Regions from separate parts of the Homo sapiens genome. Here region 2 is linked to region 1. The links are contacts of gene promoters, found by promoter capture Hi-C in blood cells and fetal thymus (Javierre and others, 2016). All regions are on one chromosome and are shown on one strand. Each heading gives the region's core, a stretch centred on a gene start or on the middle of the fragment in contact. The rest is flanking DNA. Distances are from core to core; before and after follow the strand shown.

Region 1 (3,215 bases), core at 281-2,780:
AGAAAGAGAGTTAAAGAGAAGGTAAGGGAAACAAATAAATAATTACGATAATCCAGTTATATTAGATATGTGTGCATTTTAAAATAACTTCAACAACCATATGAAATTGTGGCTCTTGTTCCTGTTTTTTTTACAGATGAGAAAATTGTAGCTTATGGAGTTTAAATAATTTGCTCACAGTCACAGAATTAGCGCTAGAATTTAAAATCAAGTGGTATGACTAAAAAACCATGAGAAAATTCATTCCTTCTTTTACAAAACAAGTCACTCTCTACTGACAATCAAACCCAAGTCCTCTAGATTCTCCATAATATTATTTACATCTATCCTCTTCTATCCAGCCCTACTGTCCCTCCCTCATAGCTTACTAAGTTTTCCCCAAAAGCCTCCTGACCTCCCTTCTCTGTGTCCCCCCATTCTTTTCCTTTCTTCTTTCCTTTTCCTTCCTCTCTCAACATGTATCTCATCAATTCCAACCTGCTTAAAACCCTTCAGTGACTTCCCACTGACCTAAGATTAAGTCATTGCTCTCAAATATGGCACTGCTTACCCATTGTTCTGCATATTATATTCTCTCTCCATCACTTTCTATGTTCCAACCACATTGGACTTCTTTAATATCCTCAAAACTACAAGTCGTATACCAGGGAAGGGCTTTTACACAGGCTGTTTATTCACTGTGGAACACTCCCTCCTCCTCTTCTCTTAGCTCAGCCATTCGCAAACTTTTGGGGCTCGGCCCCTTTGTGCTCTCAAATCTTCTGAAGAACCCCAAAGACCTTTTCATTTTAAAAAAGGTAGATTATATCATTATATCATGTTGCAAATTAGAACCAATTCTTTTTTAAATATTTAATTCATTTTAAAACAACATAGTAAACTGATTATACCTTAACATAAATAACATTTTATGAAAACATAGCCACGTTTTCCAAAACCAAAAATACATGAGTGAGACTAGTAGTGCTGTTATGCATTTTTTGCAAATCTTACCAATATCTGGCTTACTAAAGGATAAATGGATTCTCATGTCTGCTTCTGCATTCAATCTGTTGTGAAATCTATGTTATGCAGCTTCTGTAAAACTCCATTGTACACTTGTAATGCAATAAGAATGAAAAGGCAAATGACTTCTTAGTATTATAGGAAAACAGTCTTAACTCCTCCCTAAAAGTGTCTTAGGCAGAGACATCCAGGAAACCCAAGGTATACATTAGGAACTCTTAATTATCCTTAATATCTTGTCTTAAAGTTAAAATTTGCAAAGATGTCTTTCCTGACCTCAAAGAATAGGTCTGAGTCCTCTTGTTATATGTTTCTATAACATTCTTACCTCTCTGTCAAAACACTCACCGTACCTATAATTTATTCAATAATTTGCATAAGGACAGGGACCATACCAACTTTGTTCATAGTGAGTCTCCAGTGCTCAGCACACAGCAAGGACTCAGAAAATCTTTGTGGGAGGAAGCAGGAAATAGAAGGGGGAGAGCAAGGAAGTAAGGCCTCAGACTCAATGACACAGCTCCCTGACAATCGCTCCATTCCTTCAGCAGGATGTACACAGAGATATAACTTTCTACAGCATCCACTGCAGCTCTGGGCTCCATTTCCCTTTGAAATGGGATGGGAGAAAGGGGCAGGTAACAGACTGGAGTGAGGAGACTGAGGAGAAACTGTAGAGAATAATACTTAGGAGTACACGTGCTGGATTCTCTCATTAAGGTAATCATTCAATATTTACTAAGCAGCTACAATTTGCCAGGCATTCTTCTGGGCACTTGGGACACATCAGTGAACAAAATAGAGAAAAGTTTCTGGCCTCAAGCGATTTACAGGCAGACCTGAACTCAACCACACATCCCTCCACTTGAGTTGGCCTGGATTGTTTGTTTAATCTTCTTGTGCCTTATTTCTCTCATCAGTAAAATGTGAACAAGCCTTGAGAGTTTCCAGGTGAGAACTAAATGAAAGAATATCTTTAATGTACCCAATAGAATCAGGCACCTGGTAGGTGCCTAATAAATGGAAATCTTTCTGCTGGCAACTCTTATTCCAAAATTGATTTTTTTTTCATGTACAGAAACTATTCGATAGATTAGAATCCAGTCACTCACAGGATATCACTTGGGTAGTTGTCGGGGAGGGGGAGTGGTGTATTTAGGGTCTTCTCAGGATTCGGGGGGCTGGCTGCAGTGTCATTTTCCTATAGAGAAGCATCACCTCTGGCTTCCTCTCTTCTTCACAAGCCACCTGGATATGTTTACATTGAACTATGCAAGGTACTATTGTAGTCTTAAGCTATGCAGTATTTCAAAACAGACTTTCCTGAGGACTCTTACAAAAATAATTATGCCACGAGTGTCAGACTATTTGAAAGAAGATATTCATAGCCAACTGTTTGTAAGGGACCACCTCCTTACATGGGTTTATTGTGTATCATAGGGTTGCTGGGGTTTTCCAACTTCACCCTCTGAGTGTGGGTTGGCCTTTCTGAGAAAGCTACACTGCCTTTGAAGTAGGACTACCAGGAGAGAGGGGGGAAAAAAAAGTGTAGGGCTCTTTGACTTTTCATTTCCCTTTCTATCTACTTACTCTTTGTGCCTTCTCCAGTTAGTACCACACTAGAGAAGTGTTAGGTAGAGGAAGAGGAAGAAAGAAAAAAGGACAATCTTATCAGTTGATTTTGCTATGTGTTACCAGTCTGGTAAAAACATTTGAAGTTAGAAAGTATTCAAACATGAATAAAGTTTGGGAATTACTTGTATGGATTTAATTTCCTCAGAATACCCTCATTGTTCCTTCGCAGGAAATATTCATGAGTCAACTATCCAGAATCATAGTTATTATTCAAGCGGTGTGGGTTTAAAAGGAGATTTGATGCCATGGCAAACCTCACTGACTTAGACTGTTCTTCAAGTTAAAGAGCAGGATGATGTCTGAAGTGGCTGAAACACATATGGCTTCAGTGTGTCAAGAAGACCTGAAAGATCCCACATGGAAGTGAAATTCATTACTGGCAAGCACGGTGGCAGGAGACCCCAGAGGGCTGAGCCGCAAAGAATTTGCAGAGCCTTATGGCTAACTCCATGGCCTAGTTTGATCTTGAAGTTACTGTCTTGGATAATCCTCTCAAATCTGTTCCTGCACTTAAGAGCCACTCATCACATGACGGAGCTCCCTCTCAGGTTCCTTTACATCGCCCTGTCAGAAAT
Region 2 (3,215 bases), core at 467-2,966, 290 kb after region 1:
CCTTTGTAGAGGAGAATGAGTACTTACTGCTTACAAGACAAGCAGCATGTTTTTCAAAAGTCAAAAGAAAGCTTGTGAGGAACAAGGTAATACTCTCTAGATAGCTGGCCTTGTCTTATGCACATTCATTAATTCATTTTGTGCACAGAAATAACATGTCCATGAACCTGGGGGAACCACTCTTTTGAGAGACCTTGATCTTGGAGTTCCTCTGACTCAATATTAGGAGCAAGATAGAGTAAGACACCTATTTTTTTATGTTTGCCATTACATAAGAATGAATGAAACAAAGGCATAGTTCTGCATTGGTTAATAAAACAAAAAGCCCGCTAAAAGGCAATGTTATATATTCGGCAATCACATTTTGAAGACCAACTATATTCAAGACTCATGGCAGGTTCTGCATGCCACTGATGCATCTGCATGACCTTTCCAAGGCTATTTGTCACAGCAGCCCCGAAATCGTGGCCTCTAAGGGCCTAAGTGTTCTGGAGTAAATAGGCCAGGCCAGCACCTCTGAGAAATAGGGGCTCACCCCATCCTGAGCCACCTTCCCAGTCTCTGAGCAACCTCAGCATCAGTGGCCCTCTGACCGCATCAGCCTGTGGGTCCCTACTTGTCTGAACACATACAATTTTCTTTCTTTTAATTGGCAAGCTTTGAAAAACAAGTACATGAGTGAACACAGAGCAAAGAGTTTAGTCTGGGAGCTATTTCTCGTAAGTCTCTTTTGAGAAAGAGTTTCTAGCCCTTCCCCACTTTCATGAGATTAGAGAGATAAGAACAGGAACATGGAGGGAGGGGTCCACACTCTGGAAAACACTTTTGGATCTGATAACCACCCTAATGAAGCCCCAAAGCTATCGCCTTTGGATGGGTTTCTCAAACATGGAATTCTACCAGGATTTCTGTCAACAGGCCTCCTAATCCCCTCTCGCCTGCCAAGCCACATGCTACACAAAGGTGAAGAACAAGAAAGGCATTGAGACACGTGTTCTATCCAGCCAGGGGATGCACAATGTCTGCCCACGCAGGCTGCGTTATTATCAGCAGGAACTGACAGAGGGGTCTGTTCTCCCCTCTCCAGGCAGTGGAGGGGACGCTTCCCACCTCTGACCTGTGGCTGAGCCCAGCCCGAGCAGAAATCCCAGAAGAGGTCCCGGCCTTGCTCGCATCCTGCTTCCTGTGCTAAGACCTGGTCGGAATGAAAGATAGTAAAAGTTCTTTCACATTGGGAAGGCCTTTACAAAGCTTGCCTTTACTATTTTATAATCTCTACATTTTATTGTCCTTTTAAAATCACAAAAGCAAGCAGAAACATGAGGAGGCTGCTTTATTTGCTCTCCCATTCAACAACTGGGCTGCTGAGTTACCAGTTCCCCCTACTACTTGATTTGGAAATGGACACTAGAAATTTTTCCCACTTGTGACTGAAGCTGCAGAAACTTCAACCTGTTTTCAGTTACCCTGTTGTACCTAATAAGAGTCCATCCTCTTTTCAGTGGAAAGAAAGCCATGGACGAGGCATTGCAGGTCTAGTGTGGCTCTCAGACTCTCTGGGAGCAGCTGACGCACATTTAAGAACAGGGAGTCCCTGAAGGGTGGCTGAGGACAGATCACGAGACCAGAGGTGAGAGGCGCCCGACAGGGTTGGAGCCCTACTTTTGGGTGTGAGCAGTGGGGTCTGATGCACCACGGTGAAGGCATTCAGCAGCCAGGTCCTGAGTAGCAGAAACACAGGATACACAGAGGGCAATGTCTTAGAGCCACACCAACTGGGTAGGACTGAACAGATGGTCATTCAACAGATGATACACCTTTAGGGTGTATCAGCAATCCATTGGAAAACTTGTTAAAAGGCAGATTCTAGCTCAGCCCTAGATTCTGATCCAGCAGGCAGGAATCTGCATGTTTCCAGTTTTTCCAGCTGATTCTAATGTAGATGGACTCTGGATTGCCATTTGAGAGACACTGATGTAGAACAAGATCGGTTAGACTGGAGACATTGGCCAAGGTAATTTCTAGAGAAAATGTGCTTGCTCAAAGTCCTGAGGACAAATTTAAGATCAGAGTCTAGAGAAATGAACATGAACATACTCACAGCTTAAAGGCTAGGTTGGGAGGCCCAAAGGAAGCACATGTTCAAGGCACAAGCGAGTCATTACAGTGAACAAGCCTCAGAGAAGCTTCTGGAAGCCCATGATCTGGCAGATGGCACACACAATAGTATGGCAGATGGTACATACCAGGTAAACCCTAAATGCATAAGGTTCGTATTACACGTAGGAAAACAAGGCATAAGCCTAAGCAAGGGGCCTGGCCCCTCCAAATCTACAGGTAATGGGCAGAGTCCTTTAGAAGCATGGGTGCATTAGGGAATTTTACCTTGCCTCAACAGAAACTATGGTAAGCGTAGGTGCTGCAAGGAAGCCATACTTCAATTGCTCTACATCTATTATTCCAGCAAAGATGATGCTAGGTTCTATGAGAAATTCTAAAGACGACACAGCTCTGTTGTCAAAGAGCTTACGATATAATCATAAAGCACTTTAGAAAACTTGGCTATTTAAGTAAGCCCAAATACTGGATAATATTGAAGCAGTTGACTGCAATCTAGAGTACAAAGTGGGTCCTGTGCAGCCAGGAAAAAGCTCACAGAGTAGGCAGAGGGTCGAGACTAAGTGATTTAAAGCCCTCATAATTCTTTCTGCATGGCCCCTTTTTCCAGCAGGCCTGACCATGTTCTATGCAATTCACACCATCTGAAAATACATCGCAGCCCCCCTGTTCCCCTCACAGCATTAGTTCTCACCTTGAAGCTTCTGGGACTCACATTCAGCTTCTTGCCCTGTTCCTAGTCTCATCTTCTGATACTCCACCTTCCCTGTTAAGGTTTTGCCATGCCCTTGAACATGACATTAGATACAACTCCAGTTTTGACTCTTACTACCCTCTCTCTCCCCATTCACGGCACAATGATGATTTGCAAACTCCCTCCAGCCACCTTGGATATATAATCACGGTCCCTGATCCAACCTTGCCCCTGACCTTTGCATCCTTGTACCTTGGTATGGCACCTTGTACCTCCATGGGCAGCAGCTCCATGGGAATTTTCCAGTCCCAGAGAATTCATGCATTCATGAAGGGAAAGAACAAATGGGATGAGTATGAAGGCAGAAAGGAGAGTTGGAAGATAAGGAGCAATAGTCAGACAG

What was found. Contacts are between HindIII fragments. The CHiCAGO score rates a contact against its expected background, and 5 or more counts as called.
Region 2: a contact is called between a fragment that was not itself captured here and the fragment with the promoter of LINC02915 in region 1, in 1 of 17 cell types (monocytes). The highest score is 5.5, in monocytes.

Annotation. Positions count from the first base shown.
Region 1 is chr15:39,249,139-39,252,353 of GRCh38, forward strand. It overlaps LINC02915 (long intergenic non-protein coding RNA 2915), which reads left to right and starts at 1,531. Exons shown (of 2, transcript NR_144508.1): 1 at 1,531-1,725; 2 at 2,921-3,215. The region is part of intron 1 of LOC105370777 (a long non-coding RNA gene); the gene reads right to left. The HindIII fragment of the contact is 11,359 bases long and covers 1-3,215 here.
Region 2 is chr15:39,534,662-39,537,876 of GRCh38, forward strand. No RefSeq gene overlaps it. Among named protein-coding and RNA genes, the nearest start is that of THBS1, 45 kb to the right of the region's middle. The HindIII fragment of the contact is 935 bases long and covers 1,250-2,184 here.